Regions from separate parts of the Homo sapiens genome. Here regions 1, 2, 3 and 5 are each linked to region 4. The links are contacts of gene promoters, found by promoter capture Hi-C in human tissues and cell types (Jung and others, 2019). All regions are on one chromosome and are shown on one strand. The core of a region is centred on a gene start or on the middle of the fragment in contact, and the rest is flanking DNA. Distances in the headings are between cores, read along the strand shown.

Region 1 (5,960 bases), core at 993-3,492, 600 kb after region 4:
CCCCAGCTCAGGCCTCCTCCTACCTCAGCTGGACCTTGGCCTAGCCTCCTCTTTGGCCTCCCAGCCTCTAGTCTTGCACCCTGCCCATCCTCTACATTAGCCCCAAAGGGATATTTGCAACCGACCTGGCCTGTCTCCTCCCTTGCTCTAAACCGTCTGTGGCTCCCCACTGCCCTAGGAGAAAGTCCAGGCTTCTCAGCCTCGCATTGCGGCCCCATCTTCTATGGCTCCTCTGGGCTACCTGTTGCCACCTCCCAGCCTTTCTTTTTGTCAGGGCCTCTCCTGGCCTCAGCAAATCCAACCCAGGTGTCATCCCCTTAGGATACCCTTACATGTACACACATACACACTCACCCACTCACAACCTATACTCACACAGACCTGCATATACTCACAAACGTGTACACAATCACCCACAATACTGACACACTCACAGTCATGCACACACACAAACACACACACACACACACACAAACCTGCCCACAAATGCACCTGCAGATGCACACACATGTGCTTCCTCCCCCGTGGCCCAGGCATACTCACACACACGCTCACACACATAGAAACACACATGTACACTCTCATACACGCACACGCACTAGTATCTCTACACTAGCACACAATGGCACACTTATCCATACATATTTACGCACACCCCTCGTGCACACAGCACTCACATAACACTCGCCTACTAGTAATGACACACTCAAACACGCACTCACACACACACATGCATGCAGTCTCGGGCACACTCACACCCAGACATGCACACTCACCCACACGCACACACTTGTAATACATCCATGCACACACATACACTTCGCTTGCCTACTCACCTCCACATCTGCACACACTCACACGTGTATACCCACTCCAGGGACCACAGCCAGGGACTGCGCCTCTTTCTCCACCTGTGCCCCCTCTGAAGGACAGCCAGGGGCTACCGGATGACAGCGACGGTAGGAATATGGCCTGTTTCATCCCTGTCCCCCTCACCCCTTTCCCACCCCCACCCCCACGGCCAAGGGCAGCTCCAACTCACCGGCATGGTCTGGCTCCCATGCAAGGCGTGGATGGCCGCCTGCGCCTCCGTGTGGGAGGAGAACTTCACGAAAGCACAGCCTGCTCCAAGAGAAGAAGAAGAGGTAGAGGGTGATGGGGTCACAGGACTGGCTGAGCGGGGGCCACAGGAGAGGGGACACAGAGACCTACATGGCCAGTGTCAGACACATGCAGCCAGAGAGAACTGATAACAGAAAGACAGCCAGCCGTTTGCTCAGACGGACAGCTGGACAATCAGCCAGATCAAGGGTCAGAATGGAGGAGAATCACACAGACAGACAGCCACAGTTAGACAAAGACCTGGTCACCCACACAGCCAGCCAGGCTAATGCAGACAGACAGCCACACACACAGAGACCACCAGACACAGGTGAATGGAAACACAGTCCCACCGACAAAGTCCATAGAACATACAGAGGCCACTGCACCTGGCTCCAGACTGGTAGAGTACTATGGAAGGGCCAGCCATATTGTGGAGGGAGGGGGTGGAATGTTCTGGAATTACATAGTGGTGATGGTTGCACGGTTTTATGAATAGAAAAAAAAAGCACTTCATTGTACATTTTTAAAGGGTGAATTTGGTAGGATGTGGAAGACATCTCAATTTTTTTCTTTTTTTGAGTCAGAGTCTTGCTCCGTCACCCAGGCTAGAGTGCAGTGGCGTGATCTCGGCTCACTGCAACATCTGCCTCCCGGGTTCAAGCAATGCTCTTCCTCAACCTCCCGAGTAGTTGGGATTACAGGCGCCTGCCACCACGCCCAGCTAATTTTTGTATTTTTTGTAGAGACGGGTTTCACCATCTTGGCCAGGCTGGTCTTGAACTCCTGATCTCGTGATCCACCTGCCTCAGCCTCCCAAAGTGCTGGGATTACAGGCGTGAGCCACCACGCCCAGCCCTCAATTTTAAAAAGGAAGAACCAGGTAATGGTCTGAAACCGTCAGACACATTCAGTTCTAGTAAGGTAAGAAAGACCAGAGTGGAGTCGGTCCCACATGATGAGCTCTGTGGACAGAGACCGCCAGACACCGTCATTTGGACTCTCAGGCAGGAAGATAGACAGACAGACACAACCAGAGACCACCAGTCAGTCATATGGACAAATCACATAGACAGAACCAGGAGGAAACAGTTTTACGAATAGTCAGGTGGAGGAATCTGAGACCACAGGGCACAGGTAACTCTGTCCGTGGAGAAGCCCCGCCCCTCCCCAGACCCCGCCCCATCACAAGCCACGCCCCTGCATCCCTACTCACAGGCAGCACCTGGAGAAGCCCCCCCGCCTCCCACCAGACACCGCCTCATCCCAAGGTACTGCCCCTGCATCCCCATCCATAAGCAGCCCCTGGAGAAGCCTTGCCCTTCCCCAAGGCCACGCCTCTGCATCTCCGCCCACCCCACCGCAGCCCCGCCCCTCTTCAGGGCCCGTCCCCACAGCCAGCATGCAGAGAGAGCATGCAGGTAGGATCAAGCGGGACCAGTCTCTGCTCCACCCAACCCCTGTGAACCAGCTTCTCCCAGCCAGCCCCAGCCTCCTATTGGCCTGGCCCCGCCCCACCTGGCCAGCCCCACCCCCTATATGCTCAGCCCCGACCCTTCCCAGGGCCTCTCCCCCTGGAGCCAGTCCCTCCTAACTCTACGTATTTCACCCCTCCCTGCAGTACCTCCCCTACCCAAGACCCCACCCTTGCAGCCTCACCCACAGACTTCAGCTCTGGAGAAGCCTCGGGCCTCTCCAGGGCTACATCCTCAGAGCCAGCTCCTCCCCACCCCTGCAGCCACACCTCTCCCCAAGGGCCCACCTTTGGAGAAGCCCCACCCCTCCCCAGGGCCCTGCCCCACAGGCCCCGCCCTCAGAGGCAGCTCCTCCCCACCCTGCAGCCCCATCCCCTCCCCAGGCCCCGCCCCTGCAATTCCGCCCCTCTCCAAGGCCCCGCCCCTGCAGCCTCACCCACAGACTCCACCCCTGGAGAAGCCCCGCCCCTCCCCAGGGTCCCACCCCAGAGCCAGCTCCTCCCCATGCTGCAGGCCCCACCCTCCCCACAGGCCCCGCCCCCAGAGCTAGCCCGGCCCCTCTCGCAGTCCCGCCCCGGCCCCCGCCAGTCACCTTTGCTGCTGCCGTCAGGCCCCCGGAGCACGGTGCACTCGTCAATGACCCCGAAGGGCTGGAACAGCCGCAGCACGTCCTCCTCCGACTGCTGCTTGTTCAGCATCCCCACGAACAGCTTCCGGTCCCCTGTGGGCGGCGACACCCACCTCAGCCGAGTCCCCGGCCTCCGGGAGGGCCTCCGGGATTCCTCCCTCCCTCCAGCAGAGTGGAGGCGGCAGGGCAGGAAGACGCGGCGCCCGGGCCCTGCCGGCTCCGGTTCTGCGCGTGCGAGGGAGGACCCAGCCGCGCCCTTTCCCTGCCCCGGATCTCTCCACCCTCCCACGGGCCCTGCACGCTCCCATCTCCCGGCCTTTGCCCAGGTGGCGCCCCCGCCTGGAATGCCCTCCCTGCAGTCTTTTGGGGTCTCTGCTCCACTGCTCCCCCTCCAGGCGGAGATGACCTTTCCCTCTGGTGCACTCAGAGAGCCCGCACCGAGTACTAGGGCTAGGAGCTGCCTCGCCGGGCCTGGGTCCCTGTCTGTCTGTCTGTCTGTCTTTCTGTCTGCTCCCCGGACCTGCCAGGCGGAGGTGGGCACTGATGGTCCCCGCACTTTCACGGTGCCCAGCAGAGGCCCCTGCCCAACTTTGTCGGGATCAAGAGGGGCCAGGCAGTCACCATCTGTGGAGTGGAGTGAGGGTTCACGTGCTCAGTGGACCAGGGGCCTTGGCAGGCTGGACCCCCTGCTGGGTGGGGCTGGGCTGGAACCTGGTCTGAGGCCGGAGCTGGGCCAGCCTCTCCTGTGTGAGCTCTGCCCCCTTGGGTAACTGCATGCTCCCTGGTAATGGGGAACGTGGTGGCTTCATCTCCTAGGGACGGTGAGCTGGGTTACTATGGAAACCGCTCTCGGCAGCTGTCACTCATGGGGGTGGGAGGGAGAGAGAGAAACCAGCAGAGAGACTGAGAATCAGGGAGAGAGAGAGACAGATCAGAGAGAGAGTGCGCGCGAAAGAGACTGTGAGAGACAGAGAGAATAAGAGGGATGAAGAGACAAGAGAAGAGAAAAAGGAGAAGGAGATACAGAGGGAGATGGAGAGAGAGACAGAGAAATAGAGACAAAAATGGAGACATACAGACCCCACCTCGCTACTCCCTGTCCCACGCTGGCAGCCAGGGTGGAGAGTGTGAAAGGGGCTCCCATCCCAGAGGGCCTTTACCGGACTCCTACATATACCTAGGTATCCTAACACTCCTGCTCCATGCCTCCACTCAACCAAATCTGGCTGCCCTCCTTCAGTCTCCACTTGAGATGGAGAGGAAATATACAAATTTCCAAGAATGACTAGATTTGGGTCCCATGGGAACAGCTGAGTATGCCCCCACCATGGGCACACCCTGACACCAAGGTCCAGCCCCACACAGACAACACTGGCCCCAGCCTGCATGTCTGCCCACATGCCCAGCCTCCAACAGTCAGGCACACATGTGCAAACACACACACCCATGCGCGGGCTGGGCACACGCACATGCACACAGGCAGGAAGGCATCCCCACTGCATACCACACATGTGCGCTTATGTGCACCAGCTGCAGAAACACAAATGCACATGTGCACGTACTCACACACATCTGCACACAGGCATGCCAGGTGTGCACAGTCATATACACACACATTTAAGCATGCACACATAAACACACACATTTCCACACGGAGACCCCAGAGAGCAATCCACAGCCCTTCAGGCCCCCATTGTCTGTGTCTGAAGCCCCCCAGTTATTGCACCCTGAAGGGAGTGGAGTATTTCAAACTCAGGAGAAGGCAGCTGGACCTGGCTAGACCCCCCATCCTCCCTTGGGGCCTATGGACATAGCCCCTTCTGCTCTCTGGAACCTGCTTCTCCCCCCACCAAAAGGTGTGTGAGCAGGCATGCGACTACTGCATGCTTTGGGGCAGGGAGGCCAGTTCCAGATCCACAGGCCTCGGCCACTGCCCCTTTTGCAGGAGAGAGGAAGGAAGAGATTTTCCTTCTTCTCCCATTCCTCCGCCAACCCCCAGCCTGGCAGCCACGGAGAGATGACAACTACCTCCGCGGCTTTCACTGTCCGCAGGCTTCACCTGGATTGGCCGCGCCATCTGCAGAGAGAGGGGGAAGGGAAAAGTCAAGCTTAGCAGTGGGGGTGTGGCAGGCGGGGGGTTTTGCCTGAGCTCTGCAGGCCAGCCCTGCCCACCTCCCACCACCAGCCCTCAGCACCCCACCACCCAACTAACACCCCAGTCAAAGAAATTACACACTGTCCCACCTACAGCGGAAACTGTGTGGCGAACTCTTAGCTCTCAAAACCCAACAATATCCCTTCCTCCAGGAAGCCTCCTTGCTTCCCCAAATGTGATAGGCCCAATTCCTCCAGTCCCTTTATGCGATGTGACTTTGCAGTTCCTACCATCAAGAACTAGAGTCTATTTTCCCACTCCTGGCACCTGAACTTGGCCAAGTGACTTGCTGTGACCCATAGAATGTGGTGGAAGTTAAGTTGCGGGAGTTCTGAGCCTAAGCCTCAAGAGACCTTGTGGCTTCCACTCTTGGAACTCTGAGACTGCCAGGTGGATAGGCCCAGGAGGAGGCCCCTCCTCCTCAGTAGGGGAGGAGGAGGGGCCTCATGGAGACAGAGGCCTCTCTGACAGCCACCTCAGGGGAGTGAGGCCACCCTGACCCAGCTAAGCCCAGTCAAGTCTCAGCTGACTGCAGCTGCTTGAGCGACCCCAGGAGAGCCCAACAGAAGAGCCGTCCAGCTGAGCCCAGACCAAGCTTTGC
Region 2 (5,825 bases), core at 3,326-5,825, 650 kb before region 4:
CCAGGTGGGCATGGGCAGCAGGGAGCCGGGGGAGGCTTCTTGTTAGAGGCCTGGGGCCACAGTGACCAAGGCTGTCGAGATCATGTCTGATGGCTGCCGGGCCAGGGAAGCCCTGGAGGAGGAGGGGAAGCCCCAGGCTTCCAAGGGTTGTGGTGCTAAGTGTAAACCACCGCTTCCCAAGGCCAAATGCCCACCCTCAGACCTGGCCAAAGCAGGACACACTTTTCATGTTCAGAGGCTGCAGTGAGCTGTGATCATGCCAGTTCCCTCCAGCCTGGGCAACTGAGCAAGACTCTGTCTCAAAAACATGAACCTGAACGTCTGTCTTCCTCCAAGCACCCAATTGGTCAAGAGTGGACAAAAAGACCAGGATCCCAGAGCAGAGAAGTCTTCATGGAAAAGAGGGCATTGGAGCTGGGGCTTTGAAGGATGAATAGGAGTTCACATCAAAACACAGAGCCAGGGAGACAAGGACTGACCCAGAAAATAAGCCAGATCAGAAGAAACTAGCAAGTTGGACTGTGAATAATTAACAGCTCATGGGGGCTAGGCTGGTGATGGGGAAGTGTATTCATATTATGCGGGAGTTACACTCAGAAACTCAACTTTCCTAGAATTATAATTCTCCCTGGAACAGGGGCCACTTCTGGCAGCTGTCGGGGGTGAGGGTAGAAGCTGGAAGAGGAGGAGGAAGCAACTGCCCTAGTACAGGTGAGAGATGAGGTAGCATAGTCCAGGCTGGTAGCCGCAGAGATGGGAAGAAGTGGGCGGATTTGCTGGTGTATTTTCACCTAGCTGAGTGTATTTTCACTGTGGTTTAGTAAGCATCTTCTGTTACTGCCTGCAGCCCAGGGGGCATTCAACCCCATGTTTCTAGAACTCTGTTCCTGCTGCTGCTGTTGGCAGCCTCAGCCTGGGGGGTCACCCTGAGCCCCAAAGACTGCCAGGTGTTCCGCTCAGACCATGGCAGCTCCATCTCCTGTCAACCACCTGCCGAAATCCCCGGCTACCTGCCAGCCGACACCGTGCACCTGGCCGTGGAATTCTTCAACCTGACCCACCTGCCAGCCAACCTCCTCCAGGGCGCCTCTAAGCTCCAAGAATTGCACCTCTCCAGCAATGGGCTGGAAAGCCTCTCGCCCGAATTCCTGCGGCCAGTGCCGCAGCTGAGGGTGCTGGATCTAACCCGAAACGCCCTGACCGGGCTGCCCCCGGGCCTCTTCCAGGCCTCAGCCACCCTGGACACCCTGGTATTGAAAGAAAACCAGCTGGAGGTCCTGGAGGTCTCGTGGCTACACGGCCTGAAAGCTCTGGGGCATCTGGACCTGTCTGGGAACCGCCTCCGGAAACTGCCCCCCGGGCTGCTGGCCAACTTCACCCTCCTGCGCACCCTTGACCTTGGGGAGAACCAGTTGGAGACCTTGCCACCTGACCTCCTGAGGGGTCCGCTGCAATTAGAACGGCTACATCTAGAAGGCAACAAATTGCAAGTACTGGGAAAAGATCTCCTCTTGCCGCAGCCGGACCTGCGCTACCTCTTCCTGAACGGCAACAAGCTGGCCAGGGTGGCAGCCGGTGCCTTCCAGGGCCTGCGGCAGCTGGACATGCTGGACCTCTCCAATAACTCACTGGCCAGCGTGCCCGAGGGGCTCTGGGCATCCCTAGGGCAGCCAAACTGGGACATGCGGGATGGCTTCGACATCTCCGGCAACCCCTGGATCTGTGACCAGAACCTGAGCGACCTCTATCGTTGGCTTCAGGCCCAAAAAGACAAGATGTTTTCCCAGAATGACACGCGCTGTGCTGGGCCTGAAGCCGTGAAGGGCCAGACGCTCCTGGCAGTGGCCAAGTCCCAGTGAGACCAGGGGCTTGGGTTGAGGGTGGGGGGTCTGGTAGAACACTGCAACCCGCTTAACAAATAATCCTGCCTTTGGCCGGGTGCGGGGGCTCACGCCTGTAATCCCAGCACTTTGGGAGGCCCAGGTGGGCGGATCACGAGGTCAGGAGATCGAGACCATCTTGGCTAACATGGTGAAACCCTGTCTCTACTAAAAATATAAAAAATTAGCCAGGCGTGGTGGTGGGCACCTGTAGTCCCAGCAACTCGGGAGGCTGAGGCAGGAGAATGGCGTGAACTTGGGAGGCGGAGCTTGCGGTGAGCCAAGATCGTGCCACTGCACTCTAGCCTGGGCGACAGAGCAAGACTGTCTCAAAAAAATTAAAATTAAAATTAAAAACAAATAATCCTGCCTTTTACAGGTGAAACTCGGGGCTGTCCATAGCGGCTGGGACCCCGTTTCATCCATCCATGCTTCCTAGAACACACGATGGGCTTTCCTTACCCATGCCCAAGGTGTGCCCTCCGTCTGGAATGCCGTTCCCTGTTTCCCAGATCTCTTGAACTCTGGGTTCTCCCAGCCCCTTGTCCTTCCTTCCAGCTGAGCCCTGGCCACACTGGGGCTGCCTTTCTCTGACTCTGTCTTCCCCAAGTCAGGGGGCTCTCTGAGTGCAGGGTCTGATGCTGAGTCCCACTTAGCTTGGGGTCAGAACCAAGGGGTTTAATAAATAACCCTTGAAAACTGGATCGGATGAATTGGCTTTCATTGTGTTCCTAGCATCTTCTCAAATCAACTTCCCAGGACTCCAGGGTGAAGGAGGAAAAGAGGCATGGCCCAGGCCCTGGGGTGTGGGATATGGTCTCCCTAGGGGATGACAGTTGGGATCAATGGCCTGTGACTTCTCCTCTCCCTTCCCCCATCCTGGGACCTAACTGGAAATAAAACCTTGACTGTTGCCCGGGTGTCATTTTACCAGTGGATTTCTGCCAGGGCTTGTGTCCTAGGAGAAGGTTTAAGTTAAACCAGATTGCCCAGGTCTCCAAACGATTTGTCATGCTGACCTGAGATCATCGAAGGGGGCACCTGCCCCCGGGCAAGGTTGCAGGGGCAGGATGGGGCTGAAGGGATGAGCAGGGTCCCGGGCCCACCTGCTGATACAGCATTGGCCATGTGGGGGCTGCAATCGGATTTGGAAGACCCTGGGGCTTGGGGGCATGTCCAGTTTTCCCAGCTCCCTAAAAAATGACCATGCAGCCTGGCGCCGTGGCTCATGCCTGTAATCCAAACACTTTGGGAGGCTGAGGCAGGCAGATCACCGGAGGTCAGGAGTTCGAGACCAGACTGGCCAACATGGCAAAACCCTGTCTCTACTAAAAATACAAAAATTAGCCAGGCACAGTGGCACGTGCCTGTAATACCAGCTACTTGGGAGGGTCAGGCAGGAGAATCACTTGAACCTGGGAGGCGGAGGTTGCAGTGAGCCAAGATCACGCCACTGCACTCCAGGCTGGGCGACAGAGTGAAACTGTGTCTCAAAAATAAAAATAAAAATAAAAAGACCATGCCTACATCTGTGGTCATTCCAGGCAAGGCAATGAAAAGGCAGGGTTCTGAGGTCCAGCAGGGCTGGGTTTGAATAGGATCCCTGGCCGGGCACGGTGGCTCATGCCTGTAATCCTAGTACTTTGGGAGGCCAAGGCAGGCAAATCACGAGGTCAGGAGTCCAAGACCAGCCTGACGAATATGGTGACACCCCGTCTCTACTAAAAATACAAAAATTAGCTAGGTGTGGTGGCAGGCGCCTGTAATCCCAGCTACTCCGGAGGCCGAGGCAGGAGAATCACTTGAACCCAGGGGGCGGAGGTTGCAGTGTGTCAAGATCGCGCCACTGCACTCCAGCCTGGGCGACAGAGTCAGACTCTGTCTCAAAAAAAAAAAAAGAAAAAAAAGGAATAGGATCCCTCACTTGCTGTGGTATGCGGGGCAAGTGTTTTATGATCTCTGAGCCTCAGCTTGCTCATCTGTGAAATGGGGATCCTAGGGAAAGGGAAGGCCTGGCTTCTGGCTTAGTTAAGGGGCAGATTAAGAAATAAAAAGAGGCTGGGTGCAATGGCTCACACCTGTAATCCCAGCAATTTGGAAGGCTGAGGTGGAAGGATCACTTGGGGCTCAGGGGTTGAAGACAAGCCTGGTCAACACAGGGACATCTCGTCTCTACAAAAAGTTTAAAAAGTTAGCTGGGGGTGGTGGTGTGTGCCTGTGGTCCCAGCTACTTAGGAGACTGAGGCGGGAGGATCACCTCAGCCTGGGAGGGCAAGGCTGCAGTGAGCTATGATCACACCACTGCACTCTAGCCCTGGGCAACCGAGCAAGACCCAGTCTCAAAAATCGATAAATAATAATAATTAATAAGAAAAGTCATCAGCGAGTTGGCCAAGGTCACTCAGCAGGGCTATGGGGGCTGTGATCGCATGGACTGTCTCTATGGCAACAGCAGTGAGGATGACAGGTGGCCAAACTTGGTCCGGGAACGTATAATAGCTCAATCTTTTGAATCTAGCGCTCCCGAATTACTATGGCAACCGTAGGGCACTGGGCCAGCTCAAGGAGAGGGCGAGGGAAGCCTGGAGCCACGCCCCCTGGGCACGCCCCCGCACGGCCTCTCCCCATTGGTCAGTTCCGGAGGCCCCCACTGCGCGAGCAGCTATAAGAAGGGCGGGCGGGACCGGCGGGGGTGTGGAGACTCGAGCCTGGGGTCGGCGGAGACAGCTGGTGTCTGAAGCCGCTCGCGCCCAGGTGAGTGCCCTGAGGGCGGCGTCCGGGAGCGCCCCCCCGGGCTTAGGAGAGGAGCTCCAGATAGGGTGGTTGGGCGAAGGTCCGGCGGCGTGGGACGGGTATGACCGGCCAGAGCAGGTGGCTGGGACCCTTGGCCCGGTTGGCCCCAGCTCAGGACCCAGTTGGGCGAGGACCAGGCCTCAGAGGACGCGGGGTGGCAACCGGAGGGATCGCAGGCGGCAGGTCTGAGGCCCGAGGTCGAGCTCCCCCCCTGTAACTCTAGCTGGCTGCGTGACCTTGGGACCAGCATGGACCTGCTGCGTACCTCAGTTGCCCTGTCTGTCAAATGAGCTGTGAGTGGACTGGGACCCAGCAGCTACCACCTCCAGCCGTCTAGGGTGCTTGGGCAGTTCTGGGCCCAGGCAGGGGCCGCAGGGGTAGCAGGGACCTCCCACATCTTACAAAACAGGAAGCAGCCCAGAGAGGTGAAGGTGCTTGCCAAAAATCACACAGCTGGCCAGGTGCAGTGTCTCATGCCTGTAATCCCAGCACTTTGGGAGGCCGAGGTGGGCAGATCACTTGAGCCCAGGAGTTTGAGACCAGCCTGGGCAACATGGCGAAACCCGGTTTCTACTAAAAATACAAAAATTAGCCGAGCATGGTGGCACGTGGGTAATCCCAGCTAACTGGGAGGCTGAAGCAGGAGAATCACTTGAACCTGGGAGGCGGAAATTGCAGTGAGCTGGGATGGCGCCACTGCTCTCCAGCCTGGGCGAGAGAGATTCTGTCTTTAAAAAAATAATAAAAATAACACCGCAATTAATGGTAGCATTTGAACCCAGGTCTTTCTCACCTCAGAGACCATGCTTCGAGTCACTCCGGCAACCCTACCTTGCCAGAGGCTCATTATTGGACACCCTCTGTGTACAGAGCTCTGGACATGCATTGTCTGAGCTCCACAGAATGCCCCATTATGCAGATGAAGAAACTGAGGCCCCAAGAGGTTTGAGAGTTGCTCAAGTCACAGAGCCCAATTTGACAGGATCTGATGCCTGGGCAGGTGCTCCCCTTACTCAATCCTGCCCCGCAGGGTGACCCTGTTTGCAGCACGATGTCTGAAGAAGAGGCGGCTCAGATCCCCAGATCCAGTGTGTGGGAGCAGGACCAGCAGGTGAGGGCTGCCCCTCCCATGGAGCAGGGACAGAAGGTATT
Region 3 (5,226 bases), core at 329-2,828, 850 kb after region 4:
GCCTCAGCCCCCCAAGTAGCCGGGACCACAGGTGTGCATCACCATGCCTGGCTAATTATTTTTGTATTTTTTGTAGAGATACAAAAAACACAAAAATGTTTTTTTGTATTGTCGCGGTGTTGTCCACACTGGTCTTGAACTCCTGGGCTCAAGCGATCCTCCCTCCTCAGCTTCCCAAAGTGCTGGAGCTACAGGCATGACCCACCACCCCTGGCCCATTGATAAGGGCTCTTGTGCCCTTTTGTAAGGGTACAAAATGGGTTTTTGTAACCCTAACCCTTAGGTACCATTAGGTACTCGATCACCTAAGGACACAAGTCCAAGTGTCATCAAGGGGCATGGATTTTTCTCTGTTTTGTTCCCAGCTGTGCCCCAGTGTCTACAGCAGTGTGTGGTCCACAGTATGCATTTAGTACACGTTTGTTGATTGACTTCACAAACCTCTCCTGAGGTTTCTCCAAAGAGAATAAGAACTTCCCACTCCCCGGGTGGGCCTGAAGGATGCTGGCTGGATGTCTGTGGTCTCTGGTCGGGGCTGGAGCCTTTGCCGTGGGAGAGACTTGAGTCTGATGGCAGAGCTGTGGTTCTTCCAGTTCTGAGTGGGACACGGCTCCTGCCTTCAAGAAACCCAGTCTGAGAGGGGAGACAGCCCAGTCCACTGGTGATGGCAGTAGGAACACAATTCCCATCTGTGGAAGTTTGCTCTGTGTAGGGAGAGGCTGACAGCGTTCATGCACTATCTCATTTAAGTGCAGTGCCCAGTGCGGTGGCTCCCGCCCGTAATCCCAGCACTTTGGAAGGCCGAAGAGAGAGGCTTGAGTCCAGGAGTTCAAGACCAGCCTGGGCAACATAGTGAGACGCCCCCCTACTCCATCTCTGCAAAAAATTAAAAAATTAGCTGGGCGTGGTGGTGCACACCTGTAGTCCCAGCTACTGGAGAAGCTGAGGGGGAAGGATCGCTTGAGCCCAGGAGTTCGAGGCTGCAGTGAGCCATGATTGCCCCACTGTACTCCAGCCTGGGCAACACAGGGAGACCCTATCTCTGCAAAAAATTAAACCCTAAAGATAGCGCACCACCCCTGACCTTTTGCAGAGACTACTGAGGCCCCCAGAGGGCGAGGGCCCGGCATGATCTGGGAAGCAGTGTTTGCTGTGAGATTCCCTTTCTGGCAGGGTTCCCTGCCAGCGCTTGGCAAGGCTGCGTCCTGCTGACCCTTCAATCTCAACCCAATGTCACTTGCTCAGAAAAGCCATTTCCGACTCCAGACTGGTCCCCGCTCCCCGCAAGCCCCCCCCCCCGCTCCCACGGTGGGTAACACGGTGTGAATTTCTTCACTGGTTTTTCTTCTCCCGCCCCTCCGGGAGGGGGTGGGGACCCTGTTTTAAGGCACTGGGCGCCTCCCCACCCGGCCTCAGTTTCCCCAACGGCCCAGGGACTGAAGGAAGGGGGCGGGTGCCCGGGGGCCGGGGGGGGCGCGGGCGCGGGGAGGGGCGGTGCGCGGGGGTGGGCGCGGGGCGGGCCGCGGGCGCGTGGGGGCGGCGGCGCCACCTTAAGGCGGCTCAGCCCGCGGCTCCCGGCCGAGCCCCGCCGGAGGGAGGCGGCTCCGCGCGGGGCCCGCCGCCCGCGCCGCCGCCACCGAAACCCGGCCGCGGCGCGCCCGACCTTCTGCGCCGGCTGCCGCGGCCGCCCTCGCCGCGCTCCCGCCCCGGCCGCTGCCCCTGCCCGCCCCGCTCGCCCCGCGCACCCCAACCCGGGGAGGGGCTCCCACGACCCCGGGCGCGCGCGCTTGGGGGCGCGCCAGGGACTCCAGGGTCCCTTGCCCCGCGCCGCTTCTCCCTCCTCCCTCTTTCTTCGGGCAGCCTCCCCACCACCCCACTTCAGCCTCCCCCACTCTTGCCGCCTCCATATCATCAAGCTCTGGTGGCGCCTGGGGGGCTTTTCGGATCGGCAGGATGTACCCCCAGGGAAGGCACCCGGTGAGTGCGGACTGCGGGGAGGGGGCCCCCAGTGTCCGGGAACTCAGACCCTGACGTTTCCCCCACACCCCCCCCAGACCCCGCTCCAGTCCGGCCAGCCCTTCAAGTTCTCGATCTTGGAGATCTGCGACCGCATCAAAGAAGAATTCCAGTTTCTTCAGGCTCAATACCACAGGTGAGGGGGGCCGCCCCAGGGGCCGCGGGAGTTCACCTGGGCGCCGGGGCGGGGCGAGGCCTCCGGGGTATAGGGCGGGGAGGAGGGGCTCCCGGTTGGAGGGGGGGCGCGACAAAGGCCTCCAGGTGGAAGCGCAGGTGCAGAGGGGTCTGGGGACAGTCAGAGCTGGGGCATTTGGAGCCCAGGAAGGGGCGGGGAGGGACTGGGACAGGAGGTGGGGGGAGGTCTGTAAGGAAGTCGGGAGGGGGAGATCCAGCCTCTCACTTTGGAAGCCGGCCCACATGGGGCGGGTGGGAGCCCCTTGCCCTCTCTCTTCTTCTCAGCCTCAAGCTAGAATGTGAGAAGCTGGCCAGCGAGAAGACGGAAATGCAGCGACATTATGTCATGGTGAGGGCACTTATGATGCCAGGGTGAGGGGAGAGGCGGGCAGGGCTTTGAGTCACGGTGGACTCTGGGGTAGGTCCCTGCCCCACTCCGAACCTCGTCTTCCCCGTCTGTACATTGGGCAGGTTGGGATTTCAGGCTCTCTAGGAGGGTCCTCCCAGCTCTGGGAATGGGGAGACAGGGAGGACCCCTCGCCTGATGGGAGTCTCTGTCGGGCCAGGGCCTCTGGACACTTCCTACCTGCCCTGCCTCTCTGGGGAGAGTAGAGGGGGCCCTTCCAGGCAGAGCCCCCGCTTCCTCCTCTGGGACCCCGTGGAGCTGGGGGGGGCTCTGCTTCCTGCTGTGATTCCCCTGAACCTGGGGACTCTTGGAAGACCCTGGCATCACCTATCTGGAGGAGGGCACCCATCTCCACCCTAGACGTTCTTACTTGGTTTTTCCTTTGCAGTATTATGAGATGTCGTACGGGCTCAACATTGAAATGCATAAGCAGGTAACTGGGTTGGGGTTACGCGTGTTCAGGAGGGAGGGTGGGGGTCTGGAAGCCCTGAGAAGGACCCAGAGTGGGCAGCCGGGGCCAGAGCAGACCTAGGGAACACGGGTCTCATCCTGAAATCTCCGCAGAGGTCACAGAGGGCCCATCTGGGACCAGGAAGACAGATTTCAGCCTCGTGGAAGGAAAATGAGTCCCACCTTCTGAAGACAGTATCTAGCAGTTGGAGCGTCCAGCAGAGATGCAGGCAGTGGGCAGGGGCCACCAGGCATCCCCATCAAGGAGGGCACATAGCAGAGGCAGGGCAGCCAGGCCAGGGAGGCTGTGGAAGTGACTTCTGTCCTAGGAGGGAGCTGGATGGCCACTCTTAGAGGTCCCTTTCAACCCAGAAAGTCTGAAGTTTTGAGATGGACCCCAGGTTCTGTTGCTGCTTTGAAGCTTCTGAGATTGGTCTCAGTGTGATTGGCTGGAAGGTTCCAAGATTGTTCTCCAGGCCCTGAATTTGATGCCATGGTTCAGACTGTGACCCCACTACTCCAAAATAGACCTCAAAACTCTGTGGCTGTCTTCAGGGCTTTGAGATTGACTCCAGTGTCGTAAGGCTCTGAGCCTCTTCTGGAGCTTCTCAGTGTGATCCAAGGTTCTGAGACAGACTTCAGGGTTCTGAAATAGACCTCAGGGTTCTGAGATTGACCTCAAGGTTCAGAGATAGACCTCAGGGTTCTGAGATTGACCTCAGTGTTCTGAGATAGACCTCACGGTTCTGAGATTGACCTCAGTTTTCTGAGATAGACCTCAAGGTTCTGAGATAGACCTCAGGGCTCTGAGATTGACCTCAGGGTTCTGAGATAGACCTCAAATTTCTGAAATTGACCTCAGGGTTCTGAGATAGACCTCAAGGTCCTGAGATAGACCTCAGGGTTCAGAGATAGACCTCAAGGGTCAGAGATAGACCTCAGAGTTCTGAGATAGACCTCAAGGTTCTGAGATAGACCTCAGGGTTCAGAGATAGACCTCAAGGGTCAGAGATAAACCTCAGGGTTCTGAGATTGTCCTATCTGTGTACTGAGATGTGTTAAAAGGTTCTGAGGTGTTCCTGAACTTGTGATCTCAAGGTTCAGAGATAGACCTCAGGGTTCTGAGATAGACATCAGGGTTCAGAGATAGACCTCAGGGTTCTGAGATAGACAGGGTTCAGAGATAGACCTCAGGGTTCTGAGATTGACCTCAGGGTTCAGAGATAGACCTCAGGGTTCTGCGATTATCATATCTATGTGCTGAGATGTGTTAAAAGGTTCTGAGGCTATTCCCGAACTTCTGATCTCAAGGTTCTGAGATAGACCTAAAGATTTTTTTTTTTTTTTTTTTTTTTTAAATTTTGAGACAAAGTTTCACTCTTGTTGCCCAGGCTGGAGTGCAATGACCTGATCTTGGCTCACTGCAACCTCTGCCTCCTGAGTGCAAGCGCCTCTCCTGCCTCAGCCTCCCGAGGAGCTGGGATTACAGGCGCCTGCTACCATGCCTGGCTAATATTTTGTATTTTTAGTAGAGACGGGGTTTCTCCATGTTGGCCAGGCTGGTCTTGAACTCCTGACCTCAGGTGATCCACCTGCCTCGGCCTCCCAAAGTGCTGGGATTACAGGAGTGAGCCACCTTGCCCGGCCAATAGACCCAAAGATTCTAAAATTGACTTTAGTGGTCCATGCTTAATCCTGAGATCCTGAGACTGGCCAGTGGTTTCTAAAGGGATGAGAGGGGTCCCAAACTTCTGAGCTTCATGGGCTCCTAGATTCTATCAGAATATTAGAATCAATGAGCAGAACCTTGTATTGGGACTTCCCGGTGGCTGGGAAGGAGAAGGGGGTGGGCTGGGAGTGTGGGGTGCCTGGGGTTGCCCACCCTGGCATGCTTTCCTGCATGTGTGGGGGTTCTGTTGGTTCTGATGTGGGCAGGAGGGGGCTTGTCTGCTGAAGCATGGCGTGGTCCCATGGGTCCACGCAATAGACCCCCCTTTATGGGGTGCGGGACACCCTGGGATCCCAGTTCCACCCTCCTGGTGGGAATAGGAGACACAGACTTCGCCAGACACACAGCACACCTGTAACTCAGGCAGAGGCAAAGTCCGTGGCCATTGTATGCCCGCCCCCTTCCCCACCCACACGCCTTCTCGTCTGCTCAGCCTCTTTGGGGCACCTGG
Region 4 (5,905 bases), core at 809-3,308:
GAGCCCAGGAGGTGGAGGCTGCAGTGAGGTATGATTGTGCCACCACATTCCAGCCTGAGCAACAGAGTGAGGTTCTATTTCAGAAAATAAAATAAAATAAAATAAGGCATCTGGCTGGTGCGGTGGCTCACACCTGTAATCCCCAGCACTTTGGGAGGCTGAGATAGGAGGATCGCTTGAGCCTGGAAGGTCAAGACCAGCCTGGGCAACATAGCAAGTCCCCATCTCTTAAAAAAAAAAAAATACAAAAATTAACCAAACATGGTGATGGGTGCCTGGTGCCTGAAGTCCCAGCTATTCAGGAGGCTGAAGTTGGAGGATCGCTTGAGACCAGGAGGTCGAGACTGCAGTGAGCTATGATCATGCCACTGCTTTCCAGCCTGAGCAACAGAGACCCTACTTCAAAAAATAAAATAAAAGATAAAGCATCTGGCTGGGGGCAGTGGCTCACACGTGTAATCCCAGCACTTTGCGAGGATCGCCTGAGCACAGGAGGTTAAGACCAGCCCGGGCAAGATAGCAAGACCCTGTCTCAAAAAAACCAAATACATGAAGCATCTAAGGCCCCCAACTCTCATGGCATCCAGGCTGCCTCTCTGTGGAGTAGGTTACCTGCAGCCCCCCAGCATAGATATCGGGTTTGCATCGGGGACAGGGGACTGTGGCTTAGCAAGGAAGGACCCAGAGGCAGCCTCAGCCAGATGAGGAAGTGGGGGGAGGGGACGGCTAAAACTAGACCCTCCCCCGTACAGGGTGAGCGTTTCTCACTCGATTCTCTGTCCTCAATGTCGTCATTCATGCTTGGAGGAGGGACAGTAACACGCAGCATGGAAAAAAAAAAAATCCCTCCTGGATGCTATGGGGTCGGGGGGGGGGCGGTGGCAGCAGCCAGCCAGGCCCTTCCCGCGAGGGTAAGTTCTCCTCGGCAGTAGAAACGCATTTGCTCTCCGGAGGAAGGGGTCTTCGCCTCTCCCTTCCTTATACTGAGCTGGGTGTGACCTCAGCCCCCAGGAACACTCCCACCAGCCCCGCCCCCGACCCCCACCCCCTGCCAGCTGCAGCCACAGGCGTTGACTCCACAGTCTTCTAAGGATGGGGTGGGGTGGGTCCTCAGTGGGCCCCGGACACTCCTGCACTCAGATCCTGGCTTCGCATTTGGGGACGGCCAAAAGAAGACAGTGACATCAAGGAACGGGAGTGAAGCGCTCATTTGAGCCCTGATGTCTGATTATTAACAAATCACATACGAGTTCCAATAAGGAGGAGGCATCTGTGTCTTAAACCATAAACCACCCCCTTCCTCCCCACCCCACAGGACAGCCTTTATCGACACACTTAGATTTTTTTTTTTTTTTTTTCCCGAAATCGTCGGCTGGTGGCCTTCCTAGCGTTATAAATAGGAAATACATAGGGCTAGGATGGGTCTATTTCAGCGTCCCAGAGAGAAGCTGAGGTTTTCATCCGCCCGAGCTCTCAGCGTGTCCTGAAAATGGTGCACTTAGAGGGGAACGGTGCGCGCGGAAGGTAAACTGTGTTGCTGGGCGCAGCTCAGGGAACGGTTTTCCCTGGTACCGGGAACAGGGATGTGAGGGCCTTCACGGAGTCACAAGACCGTGGCTCTCTGCTCCCACCCGCCCCATCTGCTGGAAAGGGATTTAGAGGCGGCAAAGGCTGCCGGATAAACCTTCCAGGGAGACGGTTTATCCTGGGAGAAGGGGAGATGCGCGCACTCACCTCTGCAGCTGAGACAGCCTCTCCTCCTTACTGGCAAACAAAGGCGAGCCCTGCCCGGGTGCAGCTGGGCATCGCTCACGCTCCCCGGGCCTTCAGAGCCTAGGAGGAAGAGGATGCTCGCAGGGGCGGATTCTGCATCCGAGGAAGGTCACCCAGGGCGACGTGGCCAGCGCCCGCCAGCTCTTTTGTGCAGGGGTGGGTGGGGTGCAGGGTTAGCGGTGGGCTCCCCAGCGCGGGGCTGCGGCTGCGCCCCCTCTCATCGCCGCCCGCCTGCGCGCCCTGCCTCCGAGGTAGCTGCTTCTTCCCAGCTCAGGGCTGGCAGAGGCTCGGCTTCCCGAAGACGGTTAATTTATGCTGCTTTTGTGTGCAGGGAGGAGGGGGTGGGGGGTGGCGGCCTGACGGAAAAGCACAGCCCCCTGCCAGAATCCGATCCTCCCCATTGGCTGACAGACAAGCATCTCCGAAAGCCACGCCAGGGGCAGAGGCAGAAATAATTTTCTGATGGCGCATCAGAGATTTAAAAACAAAACAACGGACAAATAAATAAATAAATGGCAAGATGGCCTCATTCCTTAGAGAATGGGGGGTGGGGGAGTTGGGAAAGGTCTTCTTGGCACTTCTCCTTGCAAAGGGAGCAGGGGTGAGGGGTGGCATCCCCCAAAAAGTCTGTGCAGGCAAAGAAATGACTGTCCCCAGGTCGGATGCCATGGCTCACGCCTGTAATCCCAGCACTTTCGGAGGCCGAGGAGGGAGGATCACCTGAAGTCAGGAGTTCGATACCAGCCTGGCCAACATGGTGAAACCCCGTTTCTACTGAAAATACAAAAATTAGCCAGGCGTGGTGGCGTGCGCCTGTAATCCCAGCTACTCGGGAGGCTGAGGCAGGAGAATCGCTTGAACCTGGGAGGCGGAGGTTGCAGTGAGCCGAGATGGCGCCACTGCACTGCAGCCTGGGCGGCAGAGGGAGACTCTGTCTCAAAGAAAAAAAAAAAAAAAGAAAGAAATGACTGTCCCCAGGTCACCGTGTTGTGGGTCCATTAGATGGTCACTTACCATTGATTCAGCCTCGTGCCCTAAACAGGGCTGGGTGCAGGGGAGGCGGAAGTTTCTCAGGCACACTCACTTTGCAGGGCTGCTGTGGGAACGGCGCCCCCTGCAGTTGTGCGCTGGCGTGGCCTCGCCCTGGAGGAATTCAAGGAGACTGTGGAAGATGGTAGGGTGGAGAGTGCAGGCCGTGCAGTCGGACTGGAAGTGGGTTTGAACTCTAGCCCAGCCACTCCCCAGCTGGCAGACCAGTGGGCATGAGTGATCTCACCTGCGGGCCTCAGTTTTTCTCATCTGTGAAATGGAGCCGCTATGGCTTTTCCACATTATGAGATAATGCATAGACAGCACTAAACACAGTGCTGGGGCACAAGAAAAGCTCCCTATGTGTTTCTTTCTCTTTCTTTCTTTCTTTCTTTCTTTCTTTCTTTCTTTCTTTCTTTCTTTCTTTCTTTCTTTTTTTTTTTTTTTTAGGTGGAGTCTCGCTCTGTTGCCAGGCTGGAGTACAGTGGTGCGATCTTGGCTCACTGCAACCTCCGACTCCCAGGTTCAAGTGGTTCTCCTCCCTCAGCCTCCCAAGTAGCTGGGATTACAGGCACACACCACCACACCTGGCTAATTTTTTTTTTGTATTTTTAGTAGAGGCGGGGTTTCAACATGTTGGCCAGGCTGGTCTCGAACTCCTGACTTCAGGTGATCCGCCCACCTTGGCCTCCCAAAGTGCTGGGATTAGAGGTGCGAATCACTGTGCTCGGCCTATATGTATTTCTTGCTATTGCTGTTTTTAATGTTTATTTTATTTACTTATTTTTTTAAGAAACAGGAGTTTTCCCTGTCATCCAGGCTGGAGTGCAATGGCACAATCACAGCTCGCTGCAGTCTTGAACTCCCGGGCTCAGGTGATCCTTACACCTCTTTCTCTCCAGTGGTTGAGACTACAGGCTCCTACCACCACGCCCTGCTAATCTGTGTAATTTTTGTAGAAATAGGGTATCTCTCTATTGCCCAGGCTGGTCTTGAATTCTTGGGCTCAAGTGAGCCTCTCATCTCAGCCTCGAAAAATGTTGGGATTATAGGTGTGAGCCACCGTGCCTGACCCACAGCACTTACTATTAATTGAAATTATTTACACTTTTTTGTTGTTGTTGTTGATTCTCTGCTCCTCCTTATTAGAATATACTGGGTTTTGTTTTGTTTTGTTTTGTTTTGAGACAGAGACTTGCTCTGTTTCCCAGGCTGGAGTGCAGTGGTGTGATCTCAGCTCACCGCAACCTCCTCCTCCTCTCAGGTTCAAGCGATTCTCATGCCTCAGCCTCCCAAGCATCTGGGACTACAGGCATGCACCACCACACCCAGCTATTTTTTTTATTTTTGGTAGAAACGGGGTTTCACCATGTTGGCCAGGCTGGTCTTAAACTCCTGACCTCAGGCAACCTGCCCACCTTGGCCTCCCAAAGTGTTGGGATTACAGGCGTGAGCCACCGCACCTGGCCAGAATATACATTTTCGAAGAGCAGAGGCTCGGTTGTTCTTATGCACCACACGTTCTCCGCACAAGGTAGCAACTCCTGGTCCAAAGCTGTTCAGGAGACGCAGGCAGAGTGCATGAAGGCTGGCTCCCTTCATGACATTCAATGACACCCCACCTAGGCTGGCAGCCTCACCCGCTGCATGGAGGTCTGCACTCTTCCGAGGCATAAAGGTAACCTGCCCACAGCAGAGGCAGAAAGCCCTGATGGGGAAGCAGAGGCCCCAGAGACTTTAGCACAAGGTTGGGACTTCCCATCTCCTGGCTGGAGAAAATGGAGGTCTTGTAAGAGACACTTGTGTTAACTGAGGGGTGGATTCGATGAGTCCCTGTGCTGGGCACTGGGCACAAGATATGAGTAATTCCCATTACTGGCAAACAAAGGCGAGCCCTGCCTGGGTGCAGCGGGCATCTCTCAGGCTCCCCAGGCCTTCAGAGCATTGGAGGAAGAGGATGCCTGAAGGAGTGGATTCTGCATCCGAGGAAGGTTGCAAGGCGATATGGCTAGTGCCCACCAGCTCTTTTGTGCAGGGGTGGGGGTGCAGGGTTAGTGGTGGGCTCCCCTGCGTGGGGCTGCGGCTGTGGCCCCTCTCATCATCACCCGCCTGCGCTCCCTGCCTCTGAGGTATCTGCTTCTTCCCAGCTCACGGCTGGCAGAGGCGTGGCTTCCCTAATTCAGTTAATTTATGCTGTTTTTGTGTGCAGGATTGGGAATTCTCTTAGAATGACCATTCAGTTGAGGCCAGGCATGTAATCCCAGCACTTTGGGAGGCCGCTCACACCTGTAATCTCAGCACTTTGGGAGGCTGAGGCGGGCAGATAACTTGAGGTTGGGGGTTTGAGACCAGCCTGGACAACATGGTGAAACCCCGCCTCTACTAAAAATACAAAAATTGGTCAGACGTGGCGGTGGGCGCCTGTAATTCCAGCTACTCGGGAGACTGAGGCAGGAGAATCGCTTGAACCCGGGAGGTGGAGGTTGCAGTGAGCCCAGATTGAGCCACTGCATTCCAGGTGGGGTGACAGAGTGAGACTCCATCTCAAAAAAAAAAAAAATAAATAATTCCCATTCAGTTGAGAGAAACAGGTGGACAACAGAGTCTGGGCTGATCTAGAGACATCTTTGGAGTGGTGCAGGTTGGGGGACCGTTGGGGAGGTTTCCTGGTGGGGCACAGAGGTGGCGACTGCATGAGTGAGACCCCTGAGGAGTGAGTGGAGTTAGATGAATAAAAAAGAGGGAGGAAGGCATATTCTGGACAGACAGGCCTGCCCAGACTGGCATTTAAAGAGCAACAGCTTCTCCCCAGTCCACCAAAGCCTGGGAGCTGTCCATGGTGCTACAGCCACCACCGAGGAGCCACAGCGTGTGACCTAAGCTTGGTTCCCTGTTTTTTTTTCCCTTTGAGACAGAGGCTTGCTCTGTCACCCAGGCTGGTGCGATCTCGGCTCACTGCAACCTCTACCTCCCAGGTTCAGGCGATTTTTCTGCCTCAGCCTCCCGAGTAGCTGGGATTACAGGCACCCACCACCACGCCAGGCTAATTTTTGTATTTTTAGTAGAGACGGGGTTTCACCATGTTGGCCAGGCTGGTCTCAAA
Region 5 (5,591 bases), core at 816-3,315, 550 kb after region 4:
AGGAAGGAAGGAAGGAGAGAGGGAGGGAAGAAAGGGAGAGAAGGAGAGAAAAAAAGAGAAAGAAAGAAAAAGAAAAAAGAAAGAAAGAGAAAGAGAAAGAAAAGAAAGCAAGCCAGCTGGCATGATGGTTCACACCTGTAATCCCAGCACTTTGGCAGGCCAAGGTGGGAGGATCACTTGAGGTCCAGCGTTCCAGACCAGCCTGGCCAACAAGGTGAAACACCATCTCTATTAAAAATACAAAAATTAGCTGGGCATGTGCCTGTAGTCCCAGCTACTTGGGAGGTTGAGGCAGGAGAATGGCTTAAATCCGGGAGGCGGAGGTTGCAGCGAGCTGAGATTGTGCCATTGCACTCCAGGGTGGAGACAGACCAAGACTCCATCTGATTAAAAAGAAAAAAGGAAGGAAAGAAGGAAGGAAGGAGGGAGGGAGGGAGGGAAGAAGGGAGGAAGGGAGGAAGAAAGGACAGATGGAAGGAAGGAAGGAAGGAAGGAAAGGAAGGAAGAAAAGAAGGAAGGAACGAAAGAAGGAAGGAAGGAAAGGAAGGAAAGAAGAAAGGAAGGAAGGAAGGGAAGGAAGGGAAGGAAGGAGGGAAGGAAGGAAGGAGGGAAGGAAGGAAGGAGGGACGGAGGGAAGGAAGGAAGGAGGGAAGGAAGGGAAGGAAGGAGGGAAGGAAGGAAGGAGGGAAGGAAGGAAGGAGGGACGGAGGGAAGGAAGGAAGGAGGGAAGGAAGGAAGGAAAGGAAGGAAGTAGGGAAGGAAGGATGGAGGGAAGGAAGGAAGGAGGGAAGGAAGGAGGGAAGGAAGGAGGGAAGGAAGGAGGGAGGGAAGGAAGGAAGGAGGGAAGGAAGGAAGGAGGGACGGAGGGAAGGAAGGAAGGAGGGAAGGAAGGAAGGAGGGAAGGAAGGAAGGAAAGGAAGGAAGGAGGGAAGGAAGGAGGGAGGGAAGGAAGGAAAGGAAGGAAGGAGGGAAGGAAGGGAAGGAAGGAGGGAAGGAAGGAAGGAAAGAAGGAAGGAAGGAAAGGAGGAAGGAAGCAAGGAAGGAAAAAAGGAAGGAAGGAAGGAGGGAAGGAAGGAAGGAAAGAAGGAAGGAAGGAAAGGAGGAAGGAAGCAAGGAAGGAAAGAAGGAGGGAAGGAAGGAAGGAAAGAAGGTAGGAAGCAAGGAAGGAAAGAAGGAAAGAAGGAAGGACGGGAAGGAAAGAAGGAAGGAGGGAAGGAAGGAAGGAAGGGCACATGTATATACTGAAAGACATGCATGGAAATGTTCATATCGGTTTTATTTGTAAGAGCCCAGAACTGGAACTAATTGAAATGAACATCCACACTAGAATGGGTGGAAACAGGAATGAAAAAAAAGAAAACCTACATGGACAACAGGGTGATTATGCATTGAATTGTGCTGCCCCCCAAATTCATATGTTGAAGTTCTAACCCCAGGACCTCAGAAGGTGACTTTATTAGGATGCAGGGTCTTTACAGAGGTAATCAAAATAAAATGAGGCCATTAGAGGCCAGGCACGATGGCTCACGCCTGTAATCCCAGCACTTTGGGCGGCCGAGGCGGGTGGATCACGAGGTCAGGAGATCGAGACCATCCTGGCTAACACGGTGAAACCCCGTCTCTACTAAAAATACAAAAAATTAGCCGGGCATGGAGGCGGGCGCCTGTAGTCCCAGCTACTCGGGAGGCTGAGGCAGGAGAATGGTGTGAACCCGGGAGGCAGAGCTTGTAGTGAGCCGAGATCACGCCACTGCACTCCAGCCTGGGTGACAGAGCGAGACCCCGTCTAAAAAAAAAAGAAAAAAAATGAGGCCATTAGTCCAGATCCTAATCCAAACTGATTGGTGTCCTTATAAAAAGGGGGAAAATTTGGACACAGACATGCACTTAGGGACACCGTCACGTGTACATGAAGGCGTCATCTTACAGGTCAAGGACAGAGAAGGGTGGGACAGACTCTCCCTGCCAGCCCTCAGGAGGAATCAACCCTGCCAACACCTTGAATTTGAACTTCCAGCCCCCAGAACCGTCAGGAAATACATTTCTGTTGTTTGAGCCACTCAAGCTGTGCTACTTTGTTAAGGAAGGCCCAGGAAACGAAGACAGATGATTCCAACATACGTTTTTTTCTTTTTCTTTTTTTTAAAGATAGAGTCTCACTCAGTTGCCCAGGCTGGAGTGCAGCAGGGTGATCCTGGCTCACTGCAGCTTCTGCCTCTGGGGTTCAAGTGATTCTCCTGCTTCAGCCTCCTGAGTAGCCAGGATAACAGGTGTGCACCACCACACCTGGCTAATTTTTGTATTTTTAGTAGAGTCGGGGTTTCATCATGTTGGCCAGGCTGGTCTCAAACTCCTGACCTCAGGTGATTCACCTGCCTTGGCCTCCCAAAGTGCTGCAATTACAGACATGAGCCACTGTGCCCGGCCAAGATGGGGTTTTATGATGTTATTCAGGTTGCTCTTGAACTCCTGGCCTCAAGTGATCCTCCCACCTCAGCTTCCCAAAATGCTGGGAATATAGGTATGAGCCACTGCACCCAGCTTAAATGCATTTTTGAGTTATGATTTTATTTTTTTGAGATGGAGTCTCGCTCTGTCACCTGGGCTGGAGTGCAGTGGCACAATCTCGGCTCACTGTAACCTCTGCCTCCCAGGTTCAAGTGATTCTCCCACTTCAGCCTCCTGAGTAGCTGGGACTATAGGCACACACCACCACGCCCGGCTAATTTTTTGTATTTTAGTAGAGGCAGGGTTTCACCATGTTGATTGGGATGGTCTCGAACTCCTGAGCTCAGGTGATCCACCCGTCTAAGCCTCCCAGAGTGCTGAGATTACAGGCATGAGCCACCGCACCCGGCCGACTTATGATATTTTTAACTTATGAAGAGTTTATCAGGACATGGTCCCATCCTAAGCCCAGGAACACGTGAACAACACTGGAGCTGTCAAACCATGGCCCCGGATCAAATCCAGACTGTGATGTTTGATTGCATGGGGCCATGGGGCGAGACCATGCTGCCCGGTTGTTTGCTCCAACAGGCATCTGCATGTTTTGCTCTGAAGGTATTCTGCAGATGTGCTGAATGTCTAGAGTCAGCTGCCTTTAAGTGAAGGAAACGACCCTCTGTAATGTGAGTGGGCCTCGTCCAATCAGTTGAAGGATGTAAGAGCAAAATTCGGGTTTTCCCAGAGAAGAAGGAATTCTGCCTCAAGACTGGGACATAAAAATCCTCATTTCTTCAGGCACGGTGGCTCATGCCTGTAATCCCAGCACTTTGGGAAGCCGAGGCAGATGATTGCCTGAGCTCAGGAGTTCGAGACCAGCCTGGGCAACACAGTGAAACCCCGTCTTTCCTGAAATACAAAAAAATTAGCCGGGCGTGGCGGCGTGTGCCTGTAGTCCCAGCTACTCGGGAGGCTAAGCTGGAGAATCGCTTGAACCCGGGAGGTGGAGCTTGCAGTGAGCAGAGATCGCGCCACTGCACTCCAGGCTGGGTAACACAGCGAGACTCCATAAAAAAAAAAAAAGAAAAAAAAAAAGTCCTCGTTTCCAGACTGTGGGGACTGCCCTACAGTTTTTGGACCCAACACTGCAACACTGACTCTATTTCTGTTTTTTTTTTTGTTTTTGTTTTTGGTTTTCTTTTTTTTTTGGAGACGGGGACTCATTCTGTTGCCCAAGGTGGAGTTCAGTGGTGCAATCTCGGCTCACTGCAACCTCTGCCTCCTGGGTTTCAAACAATTCTTGTGCCTTGGCTGCCCGGTTAATTTTTGTATTTTTAGTAGAGACAGGGTTTCGCCATGTTGACCAGGCTGGTCTTGAACTCCTGACCTCGTGATCTGCCCGCCTTGGCCTCCCAAAGTGCTGGGATTACAGGCGTGGGCCACCGCGCCCGGCCTGCAACATTGACTCTTACCTGAATGTCTAGCCTGCTGCCCTGTTCTATAAATTTTAGACTGGCTAGCCCCCATATCAAGCAAATCAATTTTTTTTCTTTTTCTTTTCTTTTCTTTCTTTTTTTTTTTTTAGACGGGATCTTGTGCTGTCACCCAGGCTTGAGTGCAGTGGTGTGATCACAGCTCACTGCAGCCTTGAGTTCCTGGGTTCAACTCTGCCTCAGCTTCCCAACTAGCTGGGACTACAGGTGTGTACCACCACACCTGGCAAATGTATTTTATTTATTTATTAATTTGTTTGTTTGTTTGTTTTTAGAGATGAGGATACCATGCTGCCCAGGGTGGTCTCAAACTCTTGGGCTCAAGAGATCCTCCTGCCCCAGCCTCCCAAAGTGCTGGGATTATAGGCGTGAGCCACTGCACTCCACAATTCCTTAAAATCACTCTCTCTCTGTCTCTCTGTCTCTCACACACACAAACACTCCCCATTGGTTCTGTTTGAGAACCCTGACTAACACACAGCCCATCACTTATTTTTATAAATAAAGTTTTATTGGTATACACACCCACACCCACTCACTTACATATTGTCTGTGGCTGCCTATTGACTACAGGGACAGAGGTGAGTAGCTGCAATGGGGACTGCCTGGTCCACAAAGCCTAAAATATTTACGATACGGCCTTTTACAAGAAAAAATTTGCTGATATTCAACCTACAAAAACATTTAACAACACAGATGAATCTTACAAGCTTTACGTTGAGGACAAAAAGCCTGTCATTATGGGATTTAGTGTAATGTAGTTCACAGTGGGCAGTACTGATTGATTAATTTACTTTGTTATTTATGTTTGAGATAAACATATGTTCACGTTTTGGGTCTCACTGTGTTGCCCAGGCGGATCTTTAACTCCTGGCCTCAAGTGATCCTTCTGCTTCAGCCTCCGAAAGTGCTGGGGTTACAGATGTCAGCCACTGTGCCCTGTACTAATTTATGAAGACAGAAATCGGGCCAGTGCTTAACCATGGGAAAGTTAGAGACCAAGGGGGAGGATCAGGGTGACTTTGTGGGTGGTGGGGGAAGCAGAAATATTATTTTTCTTGATGAGTTCAGGGACCTGATTACACAAATCATAAATGTGTTTGGTTTGGGACAATTTTTGAGCTGTACCTTTATACTAGATATACTTTCCTATTTGTAGGTTGAATATCTATCAAAAGTTAATACAGGGCCGGGTGTGGTGGCTCACACCTGTAATCCCAGCACTTTGGGAAGCCAAGGCGGGTGGATCACTTGAGGTCAGGAGTTCGAGAACAGCCTGGGAAACATGGTGAAACCCCATCTGTACTAAAAAATATAAAAATTAGCCAGGCATGGTGGTGTGCGCATGTAGTCCCAGCTACTTGGGAGGCTGAGGCACAAGAATTGCTTGAACCTGGGAGACGGAAGTTTCAGTGAGCCGAGATTGCACCACCATACTCCAGCCTGGGTGACAGAGCCAGACTCCATCTTAAAAACAAAAAACAAAAAACAAAAAACAGTTAATATGGGCACGGTAGCTCATACCTGTAATGCCAGCACTTTGGGAGGCTGAGGCTGGGGGATCACTTGAGGTCAGGAGTTTGAGACCAGCCTGGACAACATGGCAAAATCCTGTATCTAGGCCGGGCGCGGTGGCTCACACCTGTAATCCCA

Evidence for each region. Contacts are between HindIII fragments. The study calls those that stand out against the background at their distance.
Region 1: a fragment that was not itself captured here is called in contact with the fragment with the promoter of ATCAY in region 4 in 1 of the 25 tissues and cell types used here (psoas muscle).
Region 2: a contact is called between the fragment with the promoter of PLIN5 here and the fragment with the promoter of ATCAY in region 4, in 1 of the 25 tissues and cell types used here (small bowel).
Region 3: a contact is called between the fragment with the promoter of TLE2 here and the fragment with the promoter of ATCAY in region 4, in 2 of the 25 tissues and cell types used here (aorta and small bowel).
Region 5: a fragment that was not itself captured here is called in contact with the fragment with the promoter of ATCAY in region 4 in 2 of the 25 tissues and cell types used here (bladder and heart left ventricle).

What each region holds. Positions count from the first base shown.
Region 1 is chr19:3,273,193-3,279,152 of GRCh38, reverse strand. It overlaps CELF5 (CUGBP Elav-like family member 5), which reads right to left. Exons shown (of 13, transcript NM_021938.4): 3 at 5,230-5,281; 4 at 3,169-3,297; 5 at 1,043-1,122. Among named protein-coding and RNA genes, the nearest start is that of CELF5, 52 kb to the right of the region's middle. RefSeq lists silencers at 2,851-3,150, 3,381-3,510, 5,556-5,756. The HindIII fragment of the contact is 8,579 bases long and covers 1-5,960 here.
Region 2 is chr19:4,533,974-4,539,798 of GRCh38, reverse strand. It overlaps PLIN5 (perilipin 5), which reads left to right and starts at 4,575. Exons shown (of 8, transcript NM_001013706.3): 1 at 4,575-4,634; 2 at 5,704-5,784. The coding sequence starts at 5,725. LRG1 (leucine rich alpha-2-glycoprotein 1) reads left to right here. Exons shown (of 2, transcript NM_052972.3): 2 at 848-3,397. The coding sequence ends at 1,859. RefSeq lists an enhancer at 4,869-5,424. The HindIII fragment of the contact is 58,476 bases long and covers 1-5,825 here.
Region 3 is chr19:3,025,632-3,030,857 of GRCh38, reverse strand. TLE2 (TLE family member 2, transcriptional corepressor) reads left to right here and starts at 1,578. Exons shown (of 20, transcript NM_003260.5): 1 at 1,578-1,977; 2 at 2,055-2,152; 3 at 2,476-2,539; 4 at 2,985-3,029. The coding sequence starts at 1,954. The HindIII fragment of the contact is 30,131 bases long and covers 1-4,609 here.
Region 4 is chr19:3,876,838-3,882,742 of GRCh38, reverse strand. ATCAY (ATCAY kinesin light chain interacting caytaxin) reads right to left here and starts at 2,058. Exons shown (of 13, transcript NM_033064.5): 1 at 1,735-2,058. RefSeq lists an enhancer at 1,853-2,383 and silencers at 5,535-5,735, 5,498-5,792. The HindIII fragment of the contact is 15,458 bases long and covers 1-5,905 here.
Region 5 is chr19:3,327,799-3,333,389 of GRCh38, reverse strand. No RefSeq gene overlaps it. Among named protein-coding and RNA genes, the nearest start is that of NFIC, 36 kb to the left of the region's middle. The HindIII fragment of the contact is 6,741 bases long and covers 1-5,435 here.